7 separate regions of the Homo sapiens genome follow, and all the other regions are linked to region 6. The links are contacts of gene promoters, found by promoter capture Hi-C in blood cells and fetal thymus (Javierre and others, 2016). All regions are on one chromosome and are shown on one strand. The core of a region is centred on a gene start or on the middle of the fragment in contact, and the rest is flanking DNA. Distances in the headings are between cores, read along the strand shown. Region 1 overlaps ALPK2 (alpha kinase 2). Region 2 overlaps ALPK2 (alpha kinase 2). Region 3 overlaps PMAIP1 (phorbol-12-myristate-13-acetate-induced protein 1). Region 4 overlaps ALPK2 (alpha kinase 2). Region 5 overlaps ALPK2 (alpha kinase 2). Region 6 holds the start of SEC11C (SEC11 homolog C, signal peptidase complex subunit). Region 7 overlaps ALPK2 (alpha kinase 2).

Region 1 (2,843 bases), core at 35-2,534, 530 kb before region 6:
GGCGAGGGGACCACAGCCAAGTTCAGGGCATGTCCAAACACACGAGGGCTCTGCTCTGAAGACTCAAGGTCAGCTTGCACTGTTCTGTCTGTCTGAATGACGATGGACCATCACGGAGACAGAAGCCTGGGCTTGGAGAGGCTGAGCGCACAGTTCTACACTGCAACTCCAGGCTGAAATCGAGGTTTTATGACAACTTCTGCTAGCGAAAGGCAGCCGTTTCTGAGGCTCACCCCTCTCCTCTCTGGACTTAGAAAAATGGGATCAGAGACCAACCTGGCCGACATAGCGAAACCCCATTCTACTAAAAATACAAAAATGAGCTGGGCATGGTGGTGTGCATCTGGAATCCCAGCCACTTGGGAGGCTGAGGCATGAGAATTGCTTGAACCTGGGAGGTGGAGGTTGCAGAGAGCTGAGATTGTGCCACTGCACTCCAGCCTGGGCAACAGAGCAAGAGACCCTGTCTCAAAAAAAAAAAAAAAAAAAAAAAGAGCAAGGGGAGAAGAGTTTTCTGTCTGCCCTCAAGAAACACCATTGGCACCTTCATGTTTTCAAGGGTAGAGACATAATCCAAAAAAGAAAAGAGAACCACCCATGAGGTACAAGATATCACTTCCCTACCCAATTGTTTTATGTTTATGTTCTTTTAATGATAAATCCTTTTACCATTGGGAGTACCCATACTTGATCAATTCTGAGTTATTTATTCACCAATCCAGAATCCCAGTCCCCTGTTTTTTCTCCACTGGTCACCCATTGCCTCTGTTTTAAGATTTTCACTTCTTATTAGCATCCCTGAAGAAGGCGTGCAGAGGAGAGACTAATTTAGCCAGTTTTAAGATATCAATTAGGGCCAGGCGCGGTGGCTCACGCCTGTAATTCCAGCACTTTGGGAGACCAAGGCAGGCAGATCATGAGGTCAAGAGATGGAGACCATCCTGGCCAACATGGTGAACCACCCCCCTCCCCCCGTCCCTATTAAAAATATAAAAATTAGCCAGGCGAGCCAGCCGCAGTGGCTCACGCCTGTAATCCCAGCACTTTGGGAGGCCGAGGCAGGCAGACCACCTGAGGTCAGGAGTTCAAGACCAGCCTGACCAACATGGTGAAACCCCATCTCTACTAAAATACAAAAATTAGCCGGGTGTAGTGGCGGGTGCCTGTAATCTCAGCTACTTGGGAGGCTGAGGTGGGAGAATTGCTTGAAACCAAGAGGCGGAGGTTGCAGTGAGCTGAGATCGTGCCATTGCACTCCAGCCTGGCAACAGAGCAAGACTCTGTCTCAAAAAAAAAAAAACAATAAAAATAAAAATAAAAAAATTAGCCAGGTACAGTGGTGCGTGCCTCTATTCCCAGCTACTCGGGAGGCTGAGGCAGGAGAATAGTTTGAACCCAGGAGGCGGGGGTGGCAGTGAGCCGAGATCACACCACTGCACTCCAGCCTGGGTGACAGAGAAAGACTCCATCTCAAAAAAAAAAAAAAAAGTCAATTAAAGAATAACAGAAGAGTTCCATCAATTTACCGAAAAAAAGTGATTCATGCCATTCCTCTGTGCTCCATGAATTTAAACTATGGTTAAGGACACCCAAGAAAGAAAGAAAATTAAGAGTGGATTATCTGAAAAAAATAACCAGTGTGAGAGCTGCCTAACCCAGAACCACAAGGTGAAGTAAAGATCACTAAATCGTGTCCAGGAAGTCACTCAAAGAAATCTTTTAGAAACAAATCATAGAGGATGGAGTTGCTTCATTGATTACACAGAAAAAAAAACTTCCAAGGTAATTTTCCCAAATGATGTTTTAGTAATGCCTTTGTGAGCCAAGAAACCTGGTATGCAGGGAGATTTTAGAGGGTGATTAGCTAGTCTAGTGATGGTTACCAGATATTATGCAGCGAAGCACAGCGTCTGACTTCTCAGGAACCTTCTGGGAAAGCAATGTAGATAAAAAACACAGCGGGGGCCTCTGGGGCCCTTCGGAGTCTTTCATCCTTTCATGCCGCACCAAATCTGAAAAAAAAAAAAATCCCCGACATCACCATTTGTTCTGGGATTTCTCTGGCCTTCTTAGGAATTCCAGAAACCACAGGGTGCCGCCCTGGCAGCTCACTGCACGCTGGAGGGTGGGCAGACTGAAGGTCTTTGGGCAGCCTTTCCAGGCCGTGGTGCTGCTGGTAGGTGGGCTGGATCCTTCTGTATTTCGGGGATGTCCTGTGCATTGCAGGATATTTAGCCGCATGCCTGGCCTCTACCCACCAGATGCCAATAGCACCCCCACCCCTCCATGTGTGACAATCAAAAATGTCTGCAGACACTGCAGGGGAATGGGGGGGTGCCCTGATTAAGAACCACGAATCCTATTGTCCTAGGCAGACCCCAGAGCACCCAGAGTTCCAATGGAGAGGGAAGCATCCCATGAGGCTATGGTTAGTGCCACCTCCTCTCATTCCTCCTCCTTTCTCTTCTTAAAGTCTTTTCACACTGTGCTCAAAAAAGTGTGCATATGTCTTTGCCTCCAAAAAACATGTCAGTTGTGTTGAAATGATGTCCAGGGAGGAGATATTTTGAAATTAGGATATGACTGCTCCTTCTGAGCACCAGGTGGGTGCCCTAGGGGAAGGCAGGCACTAAACACTTGATTAGTCACCAGATATATTATTTCACTTAATCTCTTTGAAGCTACTTAAAGGATAGTTACTAATGTCTCCTACATTTTACAGAGGTGGAACCTGAGACTCAGAGAGGTTCAACAACTTGCTCAAGATCACACAGCTCAAGTGGCAGCCACCTTGGGGCTGTCCTTCAGGGCTGTGCAGGCTGACACTTTCAATGTGTAAGACA
Region 2 (2,700 bases), core at 163-2,662, 600 kb before region 6:
TGGGGTTTCGCCATGTTGCTCAGGCTGGTCTCAAACTCCTGGGCTTAAGCAATCCTCCTACCTCGGCCTCCCAAATTGCTGGGATTACAGGTGTGAGCCACAATGCCGAGCCATTCTCTTTAAATATGCTTTAAAATATAGATACTAATAACCTGATTGGATACTTCCAAACTCTTCAGAAGGCAGTTTTGTCTTTAAACCTTTCTGCAACAGGGGTTAGGACCCATTTGATGGGATGGGAATAACAAACGCCAGCCTCAAAATCTAAGGACTCAGGTTAAGAGAGGAGAAAATTCTTCCCTTCTGATCAGCCATCCGTAGCTTTTCGCTCCAGAGCACACAGGCCACTGTAGCTTGCTGCAATATTTTCTCTTCTGACTTCTACCAGGGTGTGTGGGGAGAGAAAGAAGAGCTCTGAAATAAAACAGGCTAAAATTTGGTCTATAAATGGAATTTGGGACTGAAATGATTCCTCAGACAAAGTAGAATTAACTGCAATTTCAGGACTTTTTTTTTTTTTTTAACAGCATCATAGGTAGAGGTTGATCAAGGACTTTTGAGGCTTGAGTGGTCTGAAACCTAGAACAGAGACCTCAGAGGATTTTAGATTTAGATAAATGGGAAGGGTGAGTTGAAAAGAAATGTTACACTCAAATTTGGAAGAAAAAACCAAGGTTCAAGGAAGTTATTTTTAATGAAAAATCAGTGATTAAAGAGGAGAATCCCAATTTGTACCAAAATATTCATTTCCACAAATCCTGCTTAGTGCATGGTCTATTTCATTATACTAATTAGCTACACTGATTAATGCTTCTGTTTATATTTTTAAATAGATTTTGTAAAAGAGGATAATGAAACGGAAAAGCACCTTCATCACATTCCCCTCCAACAGACATGCCTACAGGCGGCCTTTATCAGTGGTTCTCAATCGTGGTTCTCCCGATAGATCACCTGGGAACTTGTTAGAAGTGCAAATTTCACACACTGGGGGAGGGGAGCAATCTGGGTTTTAACAAGTCCTCCAGGTGATTCTGATGCCACATGCTGAAGCCACTTGGCCACAACCATAGCATCAATGCCCACCTGGGGGACACTGGCCTTAATTGCAAAGGACCCTCGAGGACACAGGAACTGGATACCTGGTCTACAAGCCCAAACTTTAACAATGATGGACAGCAACAGAACCTCACCTCTTCCTTCTCTTTTGCAAGATGGCTTTTTTGGGTCTTGTTTCTCTTCTGTGTGTGATAATGATGTTTCGAGTTTGGGCATCTTTTTAAGAAAGGCTGAGTTCTTTCTGATATTTTCCTTTTCTTCCAGTTTCAGCCTCAGTGCTGCCACCCTGGACAAAATTTTCTTCTTTACTCCCTCAGCTAAATGTCCACTGCCTGGGGCTTCTGGCTTCCTCTTGACCTCCTCTGACCCCGTCACTGCTGTGAGGGTCCCTGGCGATTTGCCTGCTCGGGCTTCCAGGGACTTCTCTCTCTCCCTGGACTTTTTCGCACAGCCCAGGGTGCCCTTTTGACATGGATCCTGCAGTAATTTAGGGGCTTTCTCTAACTCACGTTCTCCTGAAATAAATGCCAAGGTCTTCGCTGAGGAGCTAGATGAGCTTGGGGGTTTGGTTTCCCCAATTTGAAGCACCTCTATTTTAGGTTCCTCCATTTTGTGGCTTATCAAAAAGTCTGTGACATTTCCTTCAGGAGATGAAGTACAAGGGAACCTGGTAAGATCAGGAGAAGAGGGCAAAGGTTTCCCACGCTCATTCTCAATAGTTCCCCTTTTCTGTGAAACAGGAAACACATACTGACGCTTTCTGGGCTCAACTATGTCATTTTCAGGGACGTCATGAATTTGGCCTGTGGAGTTGTGCGTGTCAACCCCAAGAGAAGCGTGAGTCATTATTGGAAGACAACTAGAAAGAGGTGAAGTGGGGGAAATCAATTCTGCTTTGTCCTTTTTGCTTTGCTCAGCCTCCCCTAAGCTCCCATCACTGCTTTCTTGTATTTGGCCTATGCTACATCCACTTGGAATTCTTTCACCGCCTTCGCTGGGTTGCAGGACTTGCCAAATGGCAGTTTTTGCCTCCTCAGGTTGAATTTGTTCAGCCTCCTGCTTCATACTGCCTTCTTGGCTTCTGCTGATTCTATTTTCACTCAGAATGGTTCCCTGGAGACATGGAACTTGCAAAATGGCCGGCTGGATTTCCGCTTCGTGGCCCATGTTTCCGTCATTTGATTGACCCCCTTCTCTGGCGCCCTGTGGTGTGGTTTCAGAGGGCTCTGGTTTTCCAGCCCTGGTGTACTCTATCACACTTATCTCATCAATGGGATCTACAGAGGACTCTAGGATTTTAGGGCAGGTCAGAAACTTTTTAAAGAAGGCAGTGTGATCCATCTTGAGTTGTTTTTCCTCCTGGTCTTGACTCACATTGTTAACATTTTCCTTCCCTCCAGTTTCAGAAGCCGCTGACAGTGAATCTGTGACAGATAACTCCTTTTCATCTACAGGGTCCACGGATGACTCCAGGAGTCTGGGTTGGCTGAAACCCCGGGAAGAAAGACTTCTCCAATGTACACTGATGGTGGGCTCTTCGCCTTTATGGCTTTCTCTGCTATCAGCAAGGGCTGACTCAGCATCCTCTGGACTGTGAGCCAATGCTGCTATTTCAGAGGGGGCCAATTCAGGCACAACAGCATC
Region 3 (2,916 bases), core at 193-2,692, 760 kb after region 6:
CTGGTGACTTATGCTACTCTTTGTAGCATTGCTTTTAAAATAAACAAAGTGGTTTTACAATGTTCTCACATCCCAAAGAATGATAATGCTACTCTTTGTGGTATTTGACATATTTGAAAGTAAGGTAACACTTGCCTCATCCAGGATGCGTTTTTTAAAAACTCAAAGTAAATGTCTTTATTCTTACCTTAACGATTGCTTTCGGTGAGTCACAATGTGTGTAAGTGTGTGTGTGTGTCACATTTGGAAAACAGGTGCACATAAAGCCAAAGTTAAGAGAAATGCTTCCTGGGATACTCAATTTGTCACTAGTGTGGGCGTATTAGGTTTTGCTGGTTACAGTCTGTAATATCATCAATGTTCATGTCCATGTTTTGCTTTCCTTCTCAGAGCTGGAAGTCGAGTGTGCTACTCAACTCAGGAGATTTGGAGACAAACTGAACTTCCGGCAGAAACTTCTGAATCTGATATCCAAACTCTTCTGCTCAGGAACCTGACTGCATCAAAAACTTGCATGAGGGGACTCCTTCAAAAGAGTTTTCTCAGGAGGTGCACGTTTCATCAATTTGAAGAAAGACTGCATTGTAATTGAGAGGAATGTGAAGGTGCATTCATGGGTGCCCTTGGAAACGGAAGATGGAATACATCAAAGTGAATTTCTGTTCAAGTTTTCCCAGATTATCATTCTTTGGGATGAGAGAACATTATAAAACCACTTTGTTTATTTTAAAGCAAGAATGGAAGACCCTTGAAAATAAAGAAGTAATTATTGACACATTTCTTTTTTACTTAGAGAATCGTTCTAGTGTTTTTGCCGAAGATTACCGCTGGCCTACTGTGAAGGGAGATGACCTGTGATTAGACTGGGCGGCTGGGGAGAAACAGTTCAGTGCATTGTTGTTGTTGCTGTTTTTGGTGTTTTGCTTTTCAGTGCCAACTCAGCACATTGTATATGATTCGGTTTATACATATTACCTTGTTATAATGAAAAAACTCATTCTGAGAACACTGAAATGTTATACTCAGTGTTGATTTCTTCGGTCACTACACAACGTAAAATCATTTGTTTCTTTTGACTCAAATTGTATTGCTTCTGTTCAGATGATCTTTCATTCAATGTGTTCCTGTTGGGCGTTACTAGAAACTATGGAAAACTGGAAAATAACTTTGAAAAAATTGGATAAAGTATAGGAGGGTTACTTGGGGCCAGTAAATCAGTAGACTGAACATTCAATATAATAAAAGAACATGGGGATTTTGTATAACCAGGGATAATAAAAAGAAAAAAGAAGTTAATTTTTAATTGATGTTTTTGAAACTTAGTAGAACAAATATTCAGAAGTAACTTGATAAGATATGAATGTTTCTAAAGAAGTTTCTAAAGGTTCGGAAAATGCTCCTTGTCACATTAGTGTGCATCCTACAAAAAGTGATCTCTTAATGTAAATTAAGAATATTTTCATAATTGGAATATACTTTTCTTAAAAAAAAGGAACAGTTAGTTCTCATCTAGAATGAAAGTTCCATATATGCATTGGTGAATATATATGTATACACATACTTACATACTTATATGGGTATCTGTATAGATAATTTGTATTAGAGTATTATATAGCTTCTTAGTAGGGTCTCAAGTAAGTTTCATTTTTTTTATCTGGGCTATATACAGTCCTCAAATAAATAATGTCTTGATTTTATTTCAGCAGGAATAATTTTATTTATTTTGCCTATTTATAATTAAAGTATTTTTCTTTAGTTTGAAAATGTGTATTAAAGTTACATTTTTGAGTTACAAGAGTCTTATAACTACTTGAATTTTTAGTTAAAATGTCTTAATGTAGGTTGTAGTCACTTTAGATGGAAAATTACCTCACATCTGTTTTCTTCAGTATTACTTAAGATTGTTTATTTAGTGGTAGAGAGTTTTTTTTTTCAGCCTAGAGGCAGCTATTTTACCATCTGGTATTTATGGTCTAATTTGTATTTAAACATATGCACACATATAAAAGTTGATACTGTGGCAGTAAACTATTAAAAGTTTTCACTGTTCTTTTCTGTGTGTTAATTTTGTCTTCATCTTGTAAGCTACTAATTACTAAGTGTTCATTATCAAGCCAAAGTATTTTAACTGATTTCCATCAGCAGACATCCTCTGACCTTCTGACCACACTGTCTCCTCCCAGTAGTTGGAGTAGAAAATATAGGGGAGTTTGCATGATTTCTGCTCTCAAGGGACTTACACTTTAATTGGGAGGGGAAATAGTGAAAAATAGGAAATGAATGCCCAACATAGGTCCTTTTTTTTTTTTTTTCTGAGACAGAGTCTTGCTCTGTCGCCCAGGCTGGAGTGCATTGGCACAATTTTGGCTCACTGCAACCTCTGCCTCCTGGGTCTAAGTGATTCTCGTGCTAAAGCCTCCCCCACACGCCACCACACTGGGTAATTTTTGTGTTTTTAGTAGAGACGGGGATTTCACCATGTTGGCCAGGCTGGTCTTGAACTCCTGGCCTCAAGTCATCTGCCCGCCTCGGCCTCCCAAAGTGCTGGGATTACAGCCTATACAGATTCATGATCTAATTAGAGGTGTTTTGTGAGCTGGCATCCTTGACTGCTCCTGGGTCTGTCTGGCAAGAGGAGCTGCAGTGCAGTTTCCTTTTTGGTGACCTCACGCTTCTTCCTCTGCTTCCAGCCGTAGAGTAGCAAAGATTGCTTCATCTGAGGTTAGTCATGTGCAAAAGTAGGTGTAACTCAATGGCCTTCCTGTTTGAGTGTGAGAACTAAAAGATACCCCTAGTTTTTAGCTTCAATCTGGTAGCCACATCTTCACCCCACCTCTGCCAAGGGAAAGAGTCAGCTGACACCTTAGAATGTAAATTGCCTTCCTAACATGGGAAACGTGAGGGAAGAAGGAGGAG
Region 4 (2,821 bases), core at 189-2,688, 620 kb before region 6:
GAGCCGGCAGGGCCGAAATTCACCCCAGAACTAAGGGGACTGGCCCCTCATCACGTCATCAGGTGGCACTTGGGGCACTACTGGGTTTCCTGTGAGATCTGCCATTGCAAACCCTTTTCAAAGGTGTAATTGGAGTAGTCAATAATGAACAGCACAGGATTTCTGCCTTAGGAAAAGCTAAGTGGATTCTGCATCCTATGCTGTGGGGCTTTTCTGAGCAAGAATCCAGATGCTGGGAGGTTTTCCAAGACTGTGTCATATTTGAGATGGAGGGAATACTGAGAGAGAAAAGAAAAAAGCAGAGTGGATTGGGAGAAGAAAGGAATACAATGGGCAGAACACTATATTCAGAGAGCAAGGCTGCCTTCAGAAGCACAAAGTCCCACGTGGCAGTGCCGCAGGATCACGATGCTTAATGCTTGACTGTACCTGAGAGATTCATCTAAGTTTAACCTATGGATTTTAATATTTTAAATGTTTTAATTGTTTTAGATGTTTATGGTAAACATTTTAAAGGGGCACAGAGCTGGTGAAAGACCCAACTTTCTTGACAGCTACACCAGTGCCGGTGTAAACAGTGAAATATGTGGACCAGGTGTGGTGATTCATGCCTGTAATCCCAGCACTTTGGGAGGCAGAGGCAGGAGGATCACTTGGAACCCTCCAGGAGGTCAAGACCAGCCTGGGCAACATAGGGAGACCCTGTCTCTGAAAAAAAAAATAAAAATTAGTTGGGCGTGATGGCATGCGCCTGTAGTCCTAGCTACTTGGGAGGCTGAGGCAGGAGGGTTGCTTAAGGCCAGGAGGCCGAGACTGCTGTGGAGCCGTGATCATGCCACTGTACTCCAGCCTGGGGGAAAGAGTGAGACACTGTCTCAAAAAAGAAAAAAAAAAAAAGACGGAGTGAAATATATGGACCAAATATGTGGATAGGAGGAGGAAGGAGCGAGAGAAGCTAAGGCTCTCCTGCCCTATCCTCTCACCTCGAGTTCTATGACTCAATAACACAGAGAAGTGGGAACTCAGCTAGAGACTTGGGTCTGTCTCTCTTCCTATATTTTATACACTACCATTAAACCAAACTCAGGAAGGCAGAAAACAAGACCAATGCTGACCCTTCTGGGTATACCCCACCCCTCTCCCTCTCCACAAAACAAAACCAAACAAAACACTCCAGCAACTAGTGCTGATGTTATCTGTTCCTGGAGACCCTGGCATCTAGTGTAGCTTAGAACCCCCACTTTCCATATCATCCTAGGTCCAAGTAGACTCAAACCGCCAGGGATGTCATAGGGCTTCTTAGAAACAAAATCAATTATATCTCGGGTTAGAACTGGTGAGGTGTCTCTAGGCATTGGCTGAGTCCCCAGTAGCTGGCATAAGGCCAAGAAATTACTCCCGAGAATTGAGAAGTGATCCCCAGCATTGAGATTGAATTGAAACCCCAAAAGAGGAAAAACACCCTTTTGAAGATATTCCCATCAATCCTGAGTCTGATTTTCATCTCGTCTTATCATGGGTGGTTCTCACACCAGAAGTGACAGCCTTTGGGCAGATGGACCCACCTGGGCAGCGAGTTTGTAGTTCCTTTGGATGAGCTCATCATTATTTCTGGTCCCATAGGCAATGGCATTGTGCACCTTAAGCACACAGGCATGGCCAGGTTTGAAGACAGGCATGAGGCCGTGCATCACTGTGCTGCGGAAGGCTTTGCGGTGAACCCCTTCTCCAAAGTGCAGCTCCTCCGTGGCGATCTGACCACGCAGGCGGCCCCCAAAGTAGCTGTCATGGAGGAAGTCTTCTTTGAAGATGAGTTGGCTGAATTCAATCTCTTCACATCCTGAAACACAGCACAGCTTTGGTTGGAAAGAATACCTCCCAGTCCTGCTCCTTGGCTAACTCCACATGGGGAGGGTCCCCACATAAGGACAATGACAAGGCTGACCTGCAGAACCAAGAGGGGGCAGACACACTTAACCCTTCAAAAGAGGCATAGCTAAAAGAAGAGATGAGTGGTTTGGTGAGGAGGAGACAGGTCATTGAATGAGAATGTGGGAACATCAGGGATGGGTTGGAGCAAAACTGGAAAGATCAGGAAAAGAATTCTAGACAGATCTGGAAAATATAAGTGGAACCAAGCAAAGTAACAAAAGTCAAGTTGAAAAGATGGGAAAAGTGTAGAGGAGGGAAGAAAGACCAATGATAAGATCTGATAATATCGGACCAACCTTTCTTTCATTATTGCCCCCCACCCCCCGCAACCACGGAATCTTTGCTGGAATTTGTTTTAATTGCCTGCCATGAAAGTTTAATACCACAAATATACTATCTGTTTATGTACCATATGTATATTTGTTCTTTATACAGAAAAAGAGTAACTTTTTTTTTGCCTCCCAAGAACCAATGTTGGTCCTCTTGGTAGCAATACTGCCTCCATTGAGAAAGCATGTGATAAGTATAGGAAACAGGTAGCAATAAACAAAACAAAAAAATAATAAAAAGAATTGCCTTTGAAGAGAAATCGAAAAAAAGGTAGAATTATTTTGCATTTATTTGTAAAAAGAAAAGTAGAATTATTTTAAGTTTTCTAACAGCTGTTTTTTTTTGCAGAGTGGATTCTACACATGTTTGAGATGACAGTGAATTTAATCAGGAAGGTCCACTTTAAACTAGAGATGACCCAATCAGACTTCTCATTCACTGAGAGAAGAAAATTAGGTGGCTTTCAATGAAATAAGATTGTTTGGATTTTTAAATCCTTTCCACTTCTCAAAACTGATGAAAACTGACATCTTTCTGAATGTTTACAAGAAGAAAGAGA
Region 5 (2,736 bases), core at 40-2,539, 570 kb before region 6:
AAAGGAGGTTACACTTGAGGAGCCTAAATTTCTTGTTGTTTCCAAACTCCTGTGAGTCTTTACAGAAATGCCTCTAAAAGTTGTAGTATTCTCTCTCTAGATCCATCTAACTGAGCCCATGGTTTCCAAACTTTAATGCCCAAGAGAATCCTCAGACCGCATATTAAAAATGCAGGTTCAGGCCTGCATTTATTTCTCAGACAGCATATTAAAAATGCAGGTTCAGGCCTGCATTTATTTCTCAGACAGCATATTAAAAATGCAGGTTCAGGCCTGCATATTTTTTCACGGTGGCTCATGTCTATAATCCCAGCACTTTGGGAGGCCGAAGCAGGCAGATCACCTGAGGTCAGGAGTTCGAGACCAGTGTGGCCAACATGACGAAACCCTGTCTCTACTTAAAAAAAAAAAAGGCCGGGCGTGATGGCAGGCCCCTGAGGTCCCAACTACTCGGAAGGCTGAGACAAGAGAATCGCTTGAACCTGGGAGGCGGAGGTTGCAGTGAGCCGAGATTGCGCCACTGCAGTCCAGCCTGGGTGACAGAGCAAGACTCTGCCTCAAAATTAATAAAAATGCAGGTTCAGCAAGTCTGTGGTAAAACTTAGGGACCTATGTTGTTTTTTTAAACACGCACCTCATCAGGTGATTCCAATGCAAATAGTCCAGGCCCTCACTTTAAGACACTGCCCTGGGGACTCCAAGCAGAGTAGAACCACCTGAACACGAGACATCCAAATCCTTAGTGCAGGCTGTTTGCCAGGACATGTTTCTGTAATGAGTTAGCTCTGTGAGATCGGTCTACAAGAGAATGATGTCAGTATAACCAACACGTGGCATTGGTTCATACGCAGTTTTTCTTTGGCAAAGGGAACCAGAATAGCTGGAATAAATTACAGAAAATTGAGCAGGAAAACAAGCCTTTGACTCAGCCTCTGCATTGGCAGCAGGGGCCCTATTAAGTTGTATTTTAACAGAATTTCAAATGCAGCCTGCCCTCAGTGGTCCTCTCTCCTAAGAAGCAAACTCCAAGCCCGTGTGTCTAAGGGCAGGTTGAGTGGCGCCCCCAGACCCACTTTAACAGCAGCTTTGCTGGCTCAGAGACCCACTTCTGTCTTTGAGGTCTCCGCACCCTCAAGCTGGCTCCATCTGAAAGATCTCCAGCATCTCCACTCTGTTGTGTGTTTTTAATATCTGCCATGGTGGCCTCCTGCCAGCCTGGGCCACCTCCCTGGGCAGTCCAAGTGAGTTTCCCGGGCACATGTTTTGATTTTATTAGTTTCTGGTTTCAAAATGGTCTGTTTCCTAAGTGACCTCTTGGGGATGCTAATTTTCCCCAAAGCCCTTACACTTTAAGGGTGTGATTTTTCAGAATGTGAGGTGTTTCTGGGATGCATATATGGCACTAGGACAGGAACGCCTTATGTGTGAAGAATACCCATTGCCTCTGTTTGAAAAGTGCTATTGAATAACCTGATGCTGTGTTCCTTGGCTAAGATTGTGGGAAATCACGGGCAAGGACTCCCGAATCCCCAAGAAAGTACATCACAAGCTGTATAGCCTTTAGCTCTCTGCAGCCCTACTCAGGGGAGGTGGAACTTGGAACCCCCCAGGATTTAGCTCCATATGGGCTCCAGGACTCTCAACCACAGCTGTGCCTCAGTTACCCAGGGTCAGCTGGAGCTTCCATAAGGCACGCACGCCTGAGCTCTACCCTCGATCTATTGAAATAAGGACCTCCGGGGTGGGGCTTGTATGTCTGTATACAGTTAGCCTCTGTATCCGTGGGTTTTAAATTTGTGGATTCAACCAATCATGGACCCAAGAGATTTGGGGAAAAATTGCATCTTTACTGAATGTGTACAGACTTTTAAAATTGTTACTCTCAGCAATAGAGTATAACAACTATTCACGTAGCATTTACATTGTATTAGGTGTTATAAGTAATTGGAGATGATTTGAAGTGAACAGGAGGATGTATATAAGTTATTTGCAAATACTATGCCATTTTATATCAGAGACATGAGCATCCTCAGATTTTGGTATCTGAGGGGGGTCCTGGAACCAATCCCCTACAGATACCAAGAGACAAGTCTATTTAGAAGTTACAGGCTGGGCACAGTGGCTCACACCTGTAATCCCAGCACTTTGGGAGGCCAAGGCAAGAGAATCACTTGGGGCCAGGAGTTCGAGACCATCCTGGGCAACATGGCAAAACCCCATCTCTACTAAAAATAGAAAAATTAGCCAGGTGTAGTGGCATGTGCCTGTAGTCTCAGCTGCTCGTGAGCCTGAGGTGGGAGGATCACCTGAGGTCCAGGCTGTAGTAAGCAGTAACCAGGCCACTGCACTCCAACCTGGGTGACAGAGACCCAGTCTTGGGGGGGAGAAAAAGTTTCCATATGATTGTGTAGCTCAGCCAAGGCTCTCAACCTTGGAAGTATAGAGAATCACCTGGGAGCTTTTAGAGCTTCCAACGCCCACACTGCAGACCAAATCACATCAGAATGTCTGAGGGCAAAACCCAGGCAGCTGAATGTTCTAAAGCTCCCAGGTGATTCCATGCATAGCTAGGGTTGAGGGCTTGGCTTTGGGGTCTTTTCTAATCTGAGAAGGATCCTATACTCTGTGGACTGGGGCTATTGGAACTTCAGTGTGTGTATGAATCTCCTACGAGTCTGGTTGAGAATGCAGATTCTGATTCAGTAGGACTGGAACAGGGCTTCTGAGCCTGCATTT
Region 6 (2,700 bases), core at 56-2,555:
ATGTATCTCCAACTCGTTTCCTCCTTAGCTGGATCCCCAAAATTCTCCTTGTCCCTCCAACAGGAGGGGAAATGTAATGGAGGTGAAGTTGGAATGCAAAGAAACAGAACTCTTAACCAATAGCAATTGCAATATCTTGCTTTTGAAAGTTTTACACATTCTATGGTTAAGTTTCTCCCACACCTTGGAAAAACACCTTTGCAATTGAAGGGTCCCAGAACTTACCTTTCATTAGCTTCATGGTAAGTCAGCTTCTGGTATATTTTAAATTGCAACCTGATCCTTTCCCCCAGACCTCCCCATTCAACTTATCTGCTTTTCCTGTTGTCATAGCACCTCCATCCTTTAGGTACCGTATAAATTATCCATTATGTCTGCCTTCGGTAGAATATAAGCTTCATGAGGGCAAGAATCTTTGCTTGTTTTGTTAACTGATGTTTCTCAAGTGCCTAGAACAAGGCCAGGTGCATGGTAGGTGCTCCATAAAGATTTGTGGATAAATAAATACAATAAAGAATGCATAATGCATACACGAGTGAGTGAATGAACCAAAGGTAATCTAGGATCAGAACTGTGATGATCTAGGACTTCTAAATTTAAAACTTTGAGTTATATTCCACTCATTTCCACTTAACCTTGGCCATGTCAATGAACCTTTCTGGGCCTTTGCTTTCTCGTGTATGAAATTAGGTGGTTATGTATTCATTTAATTAATATCTATTGCAACCCAATTATGGTCAAGGCATTCAAAGATACTTCCTTGCATACAAGTGGTACCACTCAAAATGCAGAATTCAGCGGCCTCAAAAGTCCCGCCTCTTCCAAGCCCCGCCCACCGCAGTCCATCTTTAGGCCCCGCCCCAATTCGGCTCAGCCCGCCCCAGCGTAGAGGCACCACCTTTCCTCGCTGCAGTCATCCAATAGCCAAGATACACGGCTAGGTGATTTGCGAGCGGGAGTTAGGTGTCCTCTTGGCGCCTGACCAGAGTCGGGAAATTCAGCTCCTCTTGAGTAGTCCCTTCCCCGAGTTGCCCCCCGAGGTATGCGGGGTCACTCGCTGCTCGATGTTCCCTCCGAAGGGTCGGACAAGGCTCCGGAGCCCTGTAGCTGCCCTCCCTAGGAGCCCCGGGTCTTCACTGGCCGAGGTGCCCACCCCGCAGCATTCTGGGAGTGGTAGTTTTCTTCCTTCAGGTTCATTCCTGGCTGGCCAGTGCCCAAGACTGGCGAGACTACGATTCCCAGACGCCCAAGCGAGTCGCCGGTCACGTGGCCGCAAGGACGCTGGGCCGGTGGGCGGGGGCCGGCAGGTGCTCCGCAGCCGTCTGTGCCACCCAGAGCCGGCGGGCCGCTAGGTCCCCGGAGACCCTGCTATGGTGCGTGCGGGCGCCGTGGGGGCTCATCTCCCCGCGTCCGGCTTGGATATCTTCGGGGACCTGAAGAAGATGAACAAGCGCCAGGTGACGGAGGAGGGTGGTGAGCGCGCCGTGGCCGGGACCGCCTGTGCTAGCGGGGAGTCGGGGCTTCCCAGTCAGGGCTCCGGCTCCCAGTGAATGCGGCCGGGCGGCCACCCGAAGCTCCCGCGCTGGGCTCTCAGGCCCTGGGTTCTACGCCTACGTGTGGGCATGGGTGTGCACTTCCTTGCCCTGACAAGAGCACAATTAGGGGAGGGTGCAGGAAAGGGGAGAATAGAAACCCCGTGCCATGGAATGTCAAATGTGGTTGAGAATGCCACAGCCACGCTTGTGGGAGAGATGACTCGGTGAACGACAGCTCTCTGAGCGTATTTGAAGGGCCACCCGGTGAAGAGGGAACCGATTTCTCTGTGGGGCTTCAGAGGCCTGACTGCCGGCAGGTGGAAGAGGCAGAAAGGCAGGCGAGAGGGAAGAACTTTCCTACAACGGGAGCTGTCCAGCGATGCCTCCCAAAGCAGTTTCTTCCCAGCCTGGGCAGTTGTTTTTCCCCTGACCGTGGGTCGGGACTAAATAATGCTCCTTGTGCCTAGAGAGCTCACAAGCTGTGCGCAATCATTGTGGACTCAACCAGTGTTCCCAGCGAGATTCCAGAAGCCTTCTCTAACTTCTGAGATGGCTGCACTCTGAATATAGGAGGCAGTGTAGGGTCTTTGGGCAGCTGGGGTGGTTGAATTCCCTCTCCTTTGTGAGAGGACCTCAGAGGAAAACGTTCCTCTTGCTCTCTTTTTAGCCACTTATTGGCCATCATCACTGTCTTTGGGGCCTTATCTCTTCACTATAAGGTTAAGAGTGAGTAGGGATTGGAAAGGAAGCCCTCTCAGTCAGGAAAAATACGACTATGTAGGCTTCTAGGTAGAGAATTTGGGGGACCTGTAGGACCTGAATATCACGGTGGATACTAATGCCACTATTGCTACTAATAAATTGTGCTAAGAAAAATGGGACCTTCCAACCAGGGAGTTTTGATTGTCTTTGAAAATGGTATTAATCCTCATTATTTTGATGGCATCCAGTTTCATTTGCTCCATCATGTTGAGATGTGGGGTGGTGCCCATGGGAGGTCACAGCTTACTCCTTTAGGCATACGTGTTTTTCCCCTCTCACTCTCCTCCCCCTTCCCCAAGTAGAATTTCAGACTAGTGCAGTAGTGTGGGAAAGTTTGATAATTTCTATTTCATCAACCGTGTTTAGGATGTGGTAGTGTCTAGGTGTGCAAAGCTGATGACTC
Region 7 (2,747 bases), core at 165-2,664, 640 kb before region 6:
TGGTAGAGAGTTGTTCTAAATAACAGCACGAAATTTGCCTACTCTGGTGTCAGGCTAAGACATGAGGAGCGAAGGGAAACTAATATTTATCTAGCTCACTTCCAGTTTCAGGGGCTAGGTGTAGATTAACTGGGGGAATACTCAGGGCAAGCCGGAGTGTCCCCATGCTGTACATCACTGACTTTAAGAACTTAGTCACATGCCCACAGTCACACAGCTGGTATGACGAGAAGCCAGGATTCAAACTAGGGCTGGCGGATGCTTGCATCTGCAAGGTTCTGCAGAACACATGGAGCCTGGAAAGGAAGGCTCCGTTTGGAAAATCCTTCTGGGGTCCAGAAGCCTCCATAAATAGGGCACCATATAATTTATCTTCTAAATGGGTACACTTGTTCAGGATCAATGCTAAAGCGTATGGGATGTGAGGACATCAGGCATAAAATGGTACCATCATGGGGAAACTGCAATAGACGTTCATCCCCCTCATCAGGTAGGCTAGGCAAATTCCTACGATGCCAAGAAGCGAGGCTACTATCAGGAGAAATGGAAGCAGCAGCATCAGGGTATGAACTGGGTCTCGCTCTAAATCCCTCGTTCCTTCCTCCCCACTACATCATAATCCCTCCTAATGCGCTGTCTTCACAAGCCCAAGAACATACCCAATTCCCTGAAGTGTATGCCAGCCAGGTCTCTGGTGAGCACAGGGGAGAAGCCTGGAGACAGTTCCAACATAAAACTTCATCATCACTGAGCCATCCCAGGGAAAAGGTCCAAACCGCATTCTGGTTCTAAAACCCAACTGGAAGCTTTGTGCAATCGGCGAGAACTTCATGAATCAGACTTACTGACCTGGAGGTTAAAAGAAAGAGCGATCCCCTTCCTACTTTTTCAGATTCCTCTACTTCTCTCTGTCCTTTATTGAAGCTGAAAATTAGCATATTTGTTGGATCGTGGCTGACACTGATGGTCTGAAGTAACCAGAAAGCTCCCACGGATAAGTTGTTCTCAGCCTTGGGAAAGGAAGCTGGATTCATCCCACCACTTTATTTTCTGTGTTTCTGATGCTTTGACATCTTGTGCCTTACTGGCCCTGGAGAGACTTTACTCCTCTCAGGGCTGCCATATTCCTAGAGAGAGTAAATGATCACCTTCCAGAGAGCCTTTCATATATATGCAAACCAACCAATCCAGAGCCACACCCCTAATACCCCCTCTGTGGTCTCTCATACTGGGGCCACTGTCCACCTGCCCTAATCACCCCAGTGCAGGTACCAGACACTAGGGCCAGCCCTATGTCCCAGAGACTGCTGGAAAATGTCAAATTAGCCAATCCTAGGACTGTTTATCCTCCCTCACCTATTCCTTCCCGAATAAACCATAATATTCTTGCCTGCATTTTCCCCTCACTTCCTCTGCCTCCCAACTGGCCCTGCTGCTTCTTAGATGGCCCCTGGTGGCCTGGTGCCCCCTCTTGGCAGCTGCAAGTAACAAACTAGCTTTTCAATGGCAACTATCTCCTGATCTGTTGACCTTACGATACCTCATACTAATAAAACCTACATTTTGAAATAGAAGCCATCCCCTCCAAAAGTCATGAGCTCTCTTTTCCTCCCCCTTACAGATGGTCTTAGTACGTAGGAAGAGCAGGAGTGGGCAAAGGCGATGGTGGTTCCAACACAGAATTGCATCTTCACCAAGAACAACAAATGGCTGGCTTTCTCCTCAGTGGCAGTCAAGTAAAGAAGTGGGAAGGGGCAGCTTGTTAAAAAGATGCCCCAGTAAAATGTGATCATAGCATCATCTGTGTGTGCCTCACACTAAGCAAAGCACCACTCTGTATTAGAAAAATAAAGCCATCATCAAAAACAGGTAACTAATCACAGCTCTGCCAGAGACATTGCCTCCTATGATTATCATCATGGGGGTCTGTGAGCTGCCTAAAATACTTTTTGGAGAAAAATTAATTTAAAATATACAAATTGAATTCACTGCATTCAATTGCAAAAAAAATTTTTTTTCAAAGAAGCTTTTAATAGTGAAGATATTAAATGTAAAAGAACGGAATATTCCCAGTTAAAAGGCATCCAAGTAATGCCAGCATTTTCTCCCCGTGGTACTCCTATTGGTTATTAATCTTGAAATGTGTTTGCAAGAGTTCTCATTTGTTTCAAAGTTAAGAAACAAATGTGCTCCCCTGTGAGAACAAAGTCCATAAATATTTTATGTAAGTGAGAGAAATGAATTCATTCCAAGAACATTCGTCATCCACAGTTAGGACAAGAAATTCACTTTGCCCACCTCAGCCTGACAGTGTCTGCCTGGAAGGTGTCTGTAAGCCCAGTGTTAATTGATGCACACTCCATTTTTTCCTACTCACCCTTTAGCCAGCGTTGCTATGCCAACGTCAGTTAGCTTCATTCCTACACCTACAGGAAGAGAAAGCAAAGATGGGAGTTTGTGTTACTCAGGGCCCCTCAGGAAGTTGGGCCATCTAGCCCCAGGGAAGGGGTAATGACAGCTCATCCTCCTTCTCCTTCCTGCATAAACACTCGAGGCCTCTTTCATATACGCATCCAGCTTTAGGCAGGGACCATGGGGAAGGTGGCAGTTAGGGGGAATCAAGTCTCATGTGAGCAGACAACCCAAGCCCTCTCGGCTCTGGAAATGAAGTCCTCTGCCTGCCTGGCCCACCCACCCCATGACAAGGAGGGAGCTGGCCACTCTGTGAGAAAATCTGAGGCCTGATG

The links. Contacts are between HindIII fragments. The CHiCAGO score rates a contact against its expected background, and 5 or more counts as called.
Region 1: a contact is called between a fragment that was not itself captured here and the fragment with the promoter of SEC11C in region 6, in 1 of 17 cell types (naive CD8 T cells). The highest score is 6.9, in naive CD8 T cells.
Region 2: a contact is called between a fragment that was not itself captured here and the fragment with the promoter of SEC11C in region 6, in 1 of 17 cell types (naive CD4 T cells). The highest score is 5.6, in naive CD4 T cells.
Region 3: a fragment that was not itself captured here is called in contact with the fragment with the promoter of SEC11C in region 6 in 2 of 17 cell types (non-activated CD4 T cells and total CD8 T cells); the score reaches 7.9 in non-activated CD4 T cells.
Region 4: a contact is called between a fragment that was not itself captured here and the fragment with the promoter of SEC11C in region 6, in 1 of 17 cell types (activated CD4 T cells). The highest score is 6.4, in activated CD4 T cells.
Region 5: a contact is called between a fragment that was not itself captured here and the fragment with the promoter of SEC11C in region 6, in 1 of 17 cell types (monocytes). The highest score is 5.6, in monocytes.
Region 7: a contact is called between a fragment that was not itself captured here and the fragment with the promoter of SEC11C in region 6, in 5 of 17 cell types (naive CD4 T cells, naive CD8 T cells, total CD4 T cells and 2 more). The highest score is 7.7, in naive CD4 T cells.

What each region holds. Positions count from the first base shown.
Region 1 is chr18:58,609,806-58,612,648 of GRCh38, forward strand. ALPK2 (alpha kinase 2) reads right to left here. Exons shown (of 13, transcript NM_052947.4): 2 at 1,884-2,012. The coding sequence starts at 1,992. Among named protein-coding and RNA genes, the nearest start is that of SNORA108, 11 kb to the left of the region's middle. RefSeq lists an enhancer at 1,670-2,540. The HindIII fragment of the contact is 8,099 bases long and covers 1-2,843 here.
Region 2 is chr18:58,533,644-58,536,343 of GRCh38, forward strand. It overlaps ALPK2 (alpha kinase 2), which reads right to left. Exons shown (of 13, transcript NM_052947.4): 5 at 1,191-2,700. Among named protein-coding and RNA genes, the nearest start is that of ALPK2-AS1, 22 kb to the right of the region's middle. RefSeq lists enhancers at 1,157-1,556, 1,657-1,706, 1,699-2,700, 1,817-2,036, 2,097-2,296. The HindIII fragment of the contact is 8,331 bases long and covers 1-2,700 here.
Region 3 is chr18:59,902,257-59,905,172 of GRCh38, forward strand. PMAIP1 (phorbol-12-myristate-13-acetate-induced protein 1) reads left to right here. Exons shown (of 2, transcript NM_021127.3): 2 at 391-2,049. The coding sequence ends at 497. Among named protein-coding and RNA genes, the nearest start is that of PMAIP1, 3.7 kb to the left of the region's middle. RefSeq lists an enhancer at 2,570-2,739. The HindIII fragment of the contact is 5,229 bases long and covers 1-2,916 here.
Region 4 is chr18:58,515,343-58,518,163 of GRCh38, forward strand. It overlaps ALPK2 (alpha kinase 2), which reads right to left. Exons shown (of 13, transcript NM_052947.4): 9 at 1,566-1,840. Among named protein-coding and RNA genes, the nearest start is that of ALPK2-AS1, 40 kb to the right of the region's middle. The HindIII fragment of the contact is 5,380 bases long and covers 1-2,821 here.
Region 5 is chr18:58,566,825-58,569,560 of GRCh38, forward strand. All of the region lies in intron 4 of ALPK2 (alpha kinase 2), which reads right to left. Among named protein-coding and RNA genes, the nearest start is that of ALPK2-AS1, 11 kb to the left of the region's middle. The HindIII fragment of the contact is 5,735 bases long and covers 1-2,736 here.
Region 6 is chr18:59,138,579-59,141,278 of GRCh38, forward strand. SEC11C (SEC11 homolog C, signal peptidase complex subunit) reads left to right here and starts at 1,306. Exons shown (of 6, transcript NM_033280.4): 1 at 1,306-1,457. The coding sequence starts at 1,371. RefSeq lists silencers at 736-785, 1,206-1,345 and enhancers at 896-985, 1,066-1,165. The HindIII fragment of the contact is 2,684 bases long and covers 394-2,700 here.
Region 7 is chr18:58,495,672-58,498,418 of GRCh38, forward strand. ALPK2 (alpha kinase 2) reads right to left here. Exons shown (of 13, transcript NM_052947.4): 12 at 2,378-2,426. Among named protein-coding and RNA genes, the nearest start is that of MIR3591, 46 kb to the left of the region's middle. The HindIII fragment of the contact is 1,220 bases long and covers 805-2,024 here.